Linked DNA regions of Homo sapiens: region 2 is linked to region 1. The links are contacts of gene promoters, found by promoter capture Hi-C in blood cells and fetal thymus (Javierre and others, 2016). All regions are on one chromosome and are shown on one strand. Each heading gives the region's core, a stretch centred on a gene start or on the middle of the fragment in contact. The rest is flanking DNA. Distances are from core to core; before and after follow the strand shown.

Region 1 (5,017 bases), core at 1,581-4,080:
CAATAGGTTGAGGCAGGACCCATGAAATGGCATTTCTAACAAGCTGGTAGGTGACACAAAAGTTGCTTGTCTAAGGACCGCACTTTTGAAAACCACTGATCTAGAACAGAGGTTGGCAAGCTTTTTCTGCGGAGGGCCATATGGTAAAATATGTTAGCATTTTCAGGTCATACAGTCTCTGTTGCAACGACTCAACTGTGTCATTGCAGGCAAAAGCAGCCCTAGATAATACATAAACACATGGGTGTGGCCGTATTCCCACAAAACTTTATTTACAAAACAGCTGCCTTACCACATTTGACCCACAGGTTATTGCTTGCTACATGGATTTAGAGTAGCACTTCCACTTTTTTTCTCTTTTTTTTTTTGGAGGAGAGTTGTTTTTTCAGCGCATTAATATTTTGCAATAGTCCAGTTCAGTTTTCTTGTCATATGTTTCACAGTTTGAATTTGATTGTTTTATCTCAATTAGATTAAGTTGAACTTCTTGGCAAGACTACTTGTGATAGTGTGTACGGTAGGGAATAACTGTGAAAGACTTTGAAATGGACCAAAAATATTAGTGGTCAACTGTAATGGAATGCTAGCTGTTTAGTACAGTCTTTTGGGTTATCTGATTCTATGGGGTCTTGTGTCTGCCACTGTCTTTGAGGTATTTTACAACTCTGTAAATTGTAGACTACTGATGGTAATATACACGATTTTTGTCTTTAGAAATGCAAATTGTGTCTATTGCGTACGCAGCTGTTTTTTGACCTATGGTTACTGACCAATTTTCCATCTATAGACAACCTTATTTCAGCATTCCTAACTGCTTGAATATTTGTTGGATTCTCCTTGGATTTTCCTTTGAACCAGCTGTGACATGTTACCGGTTCTCACATTAATGAATGAGCTAAGGAATACCTTTGATACATGTTCATTCTACATCTGAGTCATGATTATACCATCTTTTAAATATTACCCTTTAGCATTTTTTATTGCATCACTTTAGAAAGCAGAAAATGCTAGTTTTTTAAAAATTGGTGATACTAGTTTTAATTACTTGATTAAGGTGGTTCTACCAGATCTTTCCATTGTGAAGAGGTATTTTGTGTTTTTTAAGGAAGTATACTTTGAAGGTGATACTTTGAGACAAAGAGAATATTCCGCTTCACAATAATTTTTCACCAGATGGTTTTAGTATTTACTGATGGTCTTTGCCTGTATCCATTATAACACTGGAGTTGCAAAACACAAACCCTTTTTCTTTTTTTTTTTTTTTGAGATGGAATCTCGCTCTGTTTCCCAGGCTGGAGTGCAGTGGCACGATCTCTGCTCACTGCAACCTCTGCCTCCTGGGTTCAAGCGATTCTCCTGCCTCAGCCTCCCGAGTAGCTGGGACTACAGGCGTGTGCCACCACGCCCGGTTAATTTTTTGTATTTTTAGTAGAGATGGGATTTCACTGTGTTAGCCAGGATGGTCTCGATCTCCTGACCTTGTGATCCGCCCGCCTTGGCCTCCCAAAGTGCTGGGTTTACAGTCGCGAGCCACCGCGCCCGGTCACCACAAACCCTTTTTCGACGTCCACAGTTTACACCTGAGCTCTCCCTTTGACCCACTACAACACTTTCTTTTCTTGGGCAATATATTAATAGCACGGTGGTTATGTCACAGGCCTGTGACTGGCTTGGGCTCAAACCCGGGCTTTTTCACTTACTAGCTGCAAGACTAACTAGTTATTTAATTTCTCCATTCCTCACTTTCCTTATCTGCAAAACGGATGCAATAAAGGCACCCCCTCTTACAGGACTGTTAGGATTAAATGAGCTAAATCACAGTGTCCGAACACTTCAGTACTTCGTACATAATTACTTGCTCAAGAAATGTTAGCTATTATTGGGTCATGATTATTTATATGTGTTTGAATTCCAGCTTTGCCACATCCCAGAGTGTCTTTGAGTAAGTCACTGAGTATCCTTGTGCCTCAATTCCTCATCTATAAGTAGGTTCCCATCTCATAGGTTTTTAAAGATTCATGCTTACATGCTTAGCAGTGTCTGGTATGGAATAAGCACTAAAAAAGATGAGCTTTTATGATGATGATGATTACTATTTTCAGTCATGATTATTTTGTATATTTACTCTAAAAGAAAGTGAATTTTTTTAGTTCAAGACTTTTAGATTCATCGTTCTACTTTCATTGTGGCTAGCTCATGGCCATCCACGTAGTGAATTAATAAAGCTTTGTTGAGTGGCACTTGCTTGACAGCGACACTTTTGTCCACTCTTTCACCTTGCTGGATTTGTGCTGCCTTCCTTGCTGTAGGAAGCCCACGCTTGGGAAATAACATTCCCACAGAAGGTCTGAGAGGCTCTGACGGGCCAAGGTTGTAAACCCCCATGATTTGACTCCACGGGCAGTTAAAGTGTGTTCCCACCCCCCACGGATCCGCTGCCACTAGGCTGTGCGAAGGCATTTACCTCCCTGGCACTTTGATCCAAGTTCCCTATTTTCCCCTACTGGTCGATCGAGGTTGGGAACAGTTGCTCTAACCTGGGAAGCACCCGCCACGATCCAGCAGGGCGCGGTGGGAGGGGAAACTGAGGCCCGGCTAGGCACCCCCGCCGCGCCCAGCCCGCCGAGAGGCTCAGGCCCCGGGAGGCACCTGGAGCCTGCGCCCCGCCCGCGCCGCTTCCTGTCCCGCGCGCTGCGCTCACGTGACCCGGGCCTGGGAGGAGCCGGGGCGGGCGGGGGTCACCTGAACAAGGGAGTCACGTGAGCGGGGGGCGGGGGTGGGGGGGCGGTGCCGGGCGGCTGTCACGTGACGCGGTTCCGGGGCCGCCGCTGCCGCTGTCGCTGTCGCCGAGCCCAGTCGAGCCGCGCTCACCTCGGGCTCCCGCTCCGTCTCCACCTCCGCCTTTGCCCTGGCGGCGCGACCCCGTCCCGGGCGCGGCCCCCAGCAGTCGCGCGCCGTTAGCCTCGCGCCCGCCGCGCAGTCCGGGCCCGGCGCGATGGGGGCCGCCGCCGGCCGGAGCCCCCACCTGGGGCCCGCGCCCGCCCGCCGCCCGCAGCGCTCTCTGCTCCTGCTGCAGCTGCTGCTGCTCGTCGCTGCCCCGGGGTCCACGCAGGCCCAGGCCGCCCCGTTCCCCGAGCTGTGCAGGTGGGTGGCCCGCCCGGACGCAGGCTCCGCTCGCGGTGCCCGGGGTGAGCGGCCGGCGTGGGGGGCGGGGAGCGCTCGAGGAGCTCCTGGGGTCTCCAAGTCGCCTCCGTTCCGCGCCGGGGTCCGCCCCGTTCCCGAGGGAAAGTTGCCTGCGTGGTGTCCGCGAGTCCCGCCGGGTCCCGTGCGCAGGCGGGGGGCGCGGGGGCACACGCGGTCGTGGCGGTCCTGGAGCCCCGCGTCCGGCCACTTGTGGCTGTCGCTGAGTCGGGGGTGGCTTTGTGCGGAGCGGTCGCCCCGGCCCTTGGGGTCGGCGCCTGCCCTCGCGCGGCCGGGCGTCCGGGAAAGTTGGAGGCAGGAACTCCAGTTTGCTTTGTTCCCGCTGCGCGTTTGCATCAGAGTTTCGCCAGCGGGGCACCGGTGAGGCCCCTCGGTGTGGAGAGGCTCACCGGGGCGTTGGAGCCCGCAGGAATGGTCCTGGAGTTGAGTGTTTGTGGTTTCATTTGCTGATTGATTTCCCCCCGTGGGCTCATTTTCTCTTTAAAGAATATATATATATATATATTTTTAGCAGGCGGTGACTTTTGTCTTCTTTAGATTGGGGGCAGGGGGTGTCGTCCAGTGTGAGCTTTCAAGACTTGACCCTTCACTTCTCTGAGCCCAACTTCCTGCCTGGTTGCTCACATGATGTCATTGTCTCCGGGGCGGATTATTCTAGTGGATCTTGCTCTGGGAACCATGATTGTATAACCCATCAGTCCCATCGAGGGCTGTTCACCTCGCGCAACTGCTAGCAGTCCAGGGCCTGGGGAACTTCGAATTTCAGGAATTTTCTGACCATCCTTTTCTGGACTGTTTAGGATGATGGAAAATTCAGCTTTTGTTTATTTTTTTAAACTTTGGTAAAAAGGAAGCAGGATGAAAAGTTTTGAACAGACAACAGTTTCTCCCTGTTACTGTTACTTTTACAAGTTACTTTTACAAGTTACTTTTCAGAGTGAAACAAAGTTGAGCCTACTTTGGGCTGAACTTGGAGTTTGTGGTAGGGTTTATGGGGGGGGTTCTTATTTTTCCCATGCATCAGAGATAGTTTTATTAGCACCCCTGTGTTCAGAACATGCAGAAATTAGTCTAAGGAGGGTGAGGCTGATCTCACGATAGAAACTCTTTGGAAAGGCCCATATTTTTTATGCTCCCTTTTTTGGAAGGGGAAGGGTGGATGGAGGGAGAGTTTGTGACACTAGTTTAAAGACCAGTTAGCTACCCTAAGATACATAGTTACTCCAGTAACTAGTATGATACAGAGAAATGGTGGCAGCTTAAACGAGGTCAGGCTGAGAACAACATTTAGAGGAAGGCATTTTGGAATAATGGCTTCTGTGACCAAAAATAAGAAATTAACTCGCCTGGGCGCGGTGGCTCATGCCCGGAATCCAGCACTTTGGAAGGCCGAGGTGGGCGGGTCACTTGAGTCCAGGAGTTGGAGGCCAGCTTCAGCAACATGGCGAAACCCCGTCTCTACAAAAAATATGAAAATTAGAGCCGGGCGCGGTGGCACACTCCTGTCCTCCCAGTTAAGGGAGGCTGAGGTGGTAGGATAACGTTAGCCCCGCAGGTCGAGGTTGCAGTGAGTTGTGATCGAGTCGAGTTGCACTCTAGTCTGGGCGACAGAGCAAGGCCCTGTCTCAAAAATAAATAAATAAATACAATAAGAAATTAACCCAGCTGGCCTAGTGTGGTTGAAGTCTTGGTCTTGTTAACAAATTGAAGTTTGTTTTCTTCACAGTTAAGATTAAGGTGGCTTCAAGGGCAGACTGATACTTTGGCTGATTGATGGGACCCTTACTTTTGCATTAGGTTAGTCATGGCAGTGTCT
Region 2 (5,017 bases), core at 864-3,363, 950 kb before region 1:
GGGGTTTCTTTGCCTTTATCTCTGATCAAAGATAAGCTTCACTTATTTTGCTGAACTTATTCTGTGGTTTAAAAAATATTTCCTGTTTTAAAATATAACAGATCTGTTACAGAAAGAACATAAACTAAGTATCCAGCCTAGAATATTTGTCCCCTTTCCCCTATGCTGGGATGGAGAAAAAGAAAAGAGCATGTCTTCAGAATACAGTAGCCTTATGTTAAAATGTCAGCTCCATCTTTCATTAGCTGTGTGACCTTGGGCAAGTTACTTAGTCTTCTCATCTATTAAATCATGCGTATTAATATTCATCTTGTGAAGTTGTGAAAATTACATGATAAATTAAAAACAAGAAAACAATCAAAAAACCTTTTCCCATCTAGTTATAGTAAGTACCTGGCACAAAAAGGAACTAAGCAAACACTTAAAATATGAGAAAGATAAGGCCTTAAGCCTGCTCCTGAGGAGTGTGGAATCTGGAATATGGCAGAAAAGAAGGATCAAAGGGGAAGGGTTAAATTATGGAGCATTTGAAGTTGGTGCATTTCGAAGGAAGTGGTGGAAAGAAGTTGAGTGATTCTAGTTTGGAGAAAGTTTTATATAAAGCTGAGGAGTAAGTGATAAATTACATGTAGGGGACCACTGTTATATTTTCTTGGTTGAATTAAAGAGTAGAAGTTCATTTATTTCTTTATTCTTTTATTAATTCAACAAACATGTAGTGAAATGTTTAACATGTGCCAGGAAGTTTTTTTAGTTCTGGAGAATACAAAGAGAAAGGAGACCCATTTCTCACCCTTAAGGAAGTTATAGTCTACTGGGAGGAGAGAAACAGGAAAAAATGGTAGATATTAAAATGTGGGGTACAAAAGAGAAAGGGAGGGAGGTGGGGTCTGTGAGTTCTTTAGGTGTCAGAGGTAATTCTTGAGCTGAGGTGTCTGCATGGCTGCGAAGGTCCGGTGGCAGGGTGTGTGGACTGTGTAGACATTGTAGGTAGGGAACTGGAATGAACGAAGTCCCAGGTGTACATCAGCTTTGCATGTGTGTGGGAGCTGCTCCAGAGTAACAGCATGTGGGGTCAGTGATGGAGGGCTGGCTTGCATGCATCAGCACAAGCCCGTGAGGGGCCACGTCAGGGAATAATGACAGTGGCTGTGGCAGTGACTCCAAGAACAAATAGATGTAACCTAGGGCAGGGGTCCCTGATGCCTGGGCCACGAACCGGGTACTGGGTACTACTGCTCTAGGGGAAGGTCTGAAAGACCAGGTGAAAGGGTGGGATTTGAAAATTTTGGGAAACATGATGAAGGTGGGGTTTGGAATGTGAGGCTTCCAACTGTATATACTGCTCAAATTGCATGAGGAGGTGGCGCATGCCTGTAATCCTAGCACTTTGGGCCCAGGAGTTCAAGACCAGCCTAGGCAACATGGCGAAACCCTGTCTGTATAAAAAATACAATAAAAGTAGCCGGGCCTGGTAGTGGACTCCTGTAGTCCCAGCTACTCAGCAGGCTGAGATTGGAGAATTACCTGAGCCCAGGAGGTTGAGGCTGCAGTAGGTGCCAGATTGAGACTGTTTAAAAAAAATTGCGTGGGGAAGACAGCTGAGACAAGGATATTAAATAAGAAGACATTTTATAAGCCTGGCCATTTGAAGATATAGGCTTAGACCAGTAGATTGTAATTTAAATTTTACTTTTTTATTTTCCAACTCTTTAATCTCTAGGAATAACTGGAAATTTTAAGAAGTTACTATCTCTGCTATGGGGATGGATAGTCAGACAGCAATGTTCACAAATTACTCTTGAAACTTGATGCAAACAACCTGTTTAAAAACTGATGTAACGAGAGGAATTTCATGGATGCAAATGAACACCTGTGAAAATTCTTCGGCAAGAACTGTTTCATTTAGCAACACCAGGTTAGCAGTTTGAGAGAGGATCTTTTTTGGGTCTACATGCCCAAATTTACAGACTGTTTTGCTACTTGAATCTGCCATAATGTTTGTTGAATAAATAATCTCTATCTTTGAGGGAGCTGTTGAATTTTTTTACAATCAAAATCCTGAAAGGAATACATTTAGATTGTATGCATCTCAATGTGCTCCGAGGCCTGTGGATGTTTGCTGTTCTTTTTAAAGAATTTAGGCATCTTAACTCTTGGCATATAAAATTATTCTTAGGAACGATATGGATATAATTCAAGTGTAATACCACCTATACATTTGCCAGAAATCACAGATATATATGTGTGTGTGTGTGTGTGTGTGTGTGTGTATATATATATATATATATATATATATATATATACTTTTTCTCATTTCTAGTAACAATGAAAATCCTGTAACTTTTTGCTACAGATGAAAATAACTGGGATCATGAATGAAATGACCAGATGGTTGCCCCATCACCTAACAGTGAGGTGCCCCCGCTTGAAATGTTGCCCCCGCTTGAAATGTTTCTGGTTTCTTTTTTTTTTTTTTTTTCGAGACAGAGTCTCGCTTTGTCACCCAGGCTAGAGTGCAGTGGCGCGATCTCGGCTCACTGCAAGCTCCACCTCCTGGGTTCACGCCATTTTCCTGGCTCAGCCTCCCTAGTAGCTGGGACTATAGGCGCCCGCCACCACGCCTGGCTAATTTTTTTGTATTTTTAGTAGAGACGGGGTTTCACCGTGTTAGCCAGGATAGTCTCGATCTCCTGACCTCGTGATCCACCTGCCTTGGCCTCCCAAAGTGCTGGGATTAAAGGCGTGAGCCACCGCGCCTGGCCAACATGTTTCTGGTTTCTTAAGACTTTAGTATATTGTTCTTAACATTTATTTGGGATGTATTTGCATTTTTGGAAGCTGACCAGTTTCTACACATATCTAAATGCCTCCTTACATTTGACAGTACATTTAACATGCTAAAGTACTTTTCTTAGATATGATCAATTTTATCCTTGAAATAAGCCTATTGGGAGCCATGGACACCAGCTCATTGTGGTGAGGACGCTGAACTCAATGGTGCAGATACAGTGGTGAAGGAGACACACACCCTGTGGTATGGTGGAGTAGACTCCTAACAGACCAACCCTGCCACAAATATAGCAACTATAAACTGGACAAACTACCAAAAGTAACTACTTAAGAGACCTGGGAAGTGAGCAAATGCAGGCAGAGGGGAGTTGAATCTTGGAGGAGAGTGTGAGTTTCCTGTTTTTCAGCCTTGTCCAAAAGATGGGCCCTGGTCACAAAGTGTCTGGGGGTGGCTAAAACTCCCATAGAAAGACTGCCATGTTTCTGGTCTAGGGAACCAGGGGCTGGAGCCTGGGGCAATCATGGCCACGAGAGTGAGGGAGAAATCCCAGAGAGGACAGAGCCAGAGAAGGGGGCACCCAAATGCTGTATCTGAACTCTGCCCAAGTCTCTAGCTGACCCGTGAACCACATGCACACAAACCAGATTCAAAGCCACTTGCAGCTAAGGTTTGGAGTACTGAATTGAGATTTGAATGGCCACTCACCATGAGAGACATGGAGTTTACAGCCTTCAGTGTAACCAAGTCAATTGCTTGTTAAAACAAAGTATCAACAGCCTTGGAATGAATACAACAGAATTTAGAGTCTTGACTTATGAAACATCCACCATGTCCAAAACTACTCAAAATATGAAGGACCAGGAAAATGTGATGTATTGGCAACAAAGAAGTTAATAAAAAGAGGTCAATTTCAGATGACCGAAATGTTGAAACTATTAGTCAAGGAATTTAAAGCAGCTATTGTGCTCAATAGAGTGAAAAAAATGCTCCTAATAAATGAGAAGATAGGAACTTTTAGGAAAGAAATGGAAAATATATAAAGAAAATATACAAAAAGGGGAAATTTTAGAACTGACAAATACAATACATGAAAAAAAAATTGCTGGATGGGCTCTAATAGCATAATGGAGATAGAGAGGAAAGAACCAGTGAATTTGAAGATAGAGCAATAGAAATTGTCCCATCTAAAGGAGGAGGAGAGGAGGAGGGGGGCGGGGGAAGGGAGTGAGAAACATAGAGAGCCTCAGGAATGTGTGGCACAATATAAAAAAAACTGATATTATGGATAGTTAAAATATCAGGAAGAGAGGAGAAAAAGAATGGGATGGCAAATATTTGAAAAAATAGTGGCTGAAAACATCCTAAATTTAATAAGATGTTTACATTTTCTGATTGGATAAGCTTTGTGAATCCCAAATGGGATAAATACAAAGAAAAACAAACTAGACACATCATAGTCAAACTACTGAAAACAAACAAAAAACAAAGAGGAATCTTAAAAGCGTAAATAAAAATGACACATTTTATATATAGGAGAATAATGATTTCAATGGTTGTGGACTTCTCAGCAGAAATTATAGAAGTCAGGGACAGTCGAATGAAATTGTTGAAGTGCTTAAAGAAAAAACTGTCAGCTTAGAAATCTCTGTCTAGCAAAAATACCCTTCAAGAATGAAAGCAAAATGAAGACATCTTCAGATATCAGAAAACTAAGAGAATTCATCACCAGAAGACCTGCACTTCCAGAAGCTAAAGAAAGTTGTACAGACTGAAGGGAGATGATATGAGAAAAGGAATAAAAAGCATAAAAAATTATAAATATTGGAGTAAACATCAAAGACCAATTTTCCTCTTAATTTCTTTCACATATGCACAACTGTATAAAGGACATAATATTGACTTAAGGTTTATATCACATGTAGATAGATTTTATGGCAGCTATGGCATAAAAGATGGTGGCAGTGTTGGTGGTGTGGCCGGGGAGGGTAAATGGACCAGTAAAATTGCCAGTAGACTGAGAAGTTAAGGGATTATATTATAGTCTCTAGAGGAGCTTCTAAGAAATCATGCAAAAGACTAAAAGACCAATAGGTAAGTTAAAATGAAATTATAAAAATATTCACTTAATCCAAAAGAATATAGGAAAGGGAGAACAAGAGGGACTAACAGCAGAGGAGACAAACATAAAGCAAATAATAAAATAATACAGCATAACCAATTAGT

What was found. Contacts are between HindIII fragments. The CHiCAGO score rates a contact against its expected background, and 5 or more counts as called.
Region 2: a fragment that was not itself captured here is called in contact with the fragment with the promoter of IGF2R in region 1 in 1 of 17 cell types (neutrophils); the score reaches 7.2 in neutrophils.

Annotation. Positions count from the first base shown.
Region 1 is chr6:159,966,252-159,971,268 of GRCh38, forward strand. It overlaps IGF2R (insulin like growth factor 2 receptor), which reads left to right and starts at 2,831. Exons shown (of 48, transcript NM_000876.4): 1 at 2,831-3,144. The coding sequence starts at 2,996. RefSeq lists silencers at 2,392-3,011, 3,022-3,301, 3,322-3,451. The HindIII fragment of the contact is 4,184 bases long and covers 2,224-5,017 here.
Region 2 is chr6:159,018,362-159,023,378 of GRCh38, forward strand. All of the region lies in intron 1 of TAGAP-AS1 (TAGAP antisense RNA 1), which reads left to right. Among named protein-coding and RNA genes, the nearest start is that of RSPH3, 21 kb to the left of the region's middle. The HindIII fragment of the contact is 4,159 bases long and covers 35-4,193 here.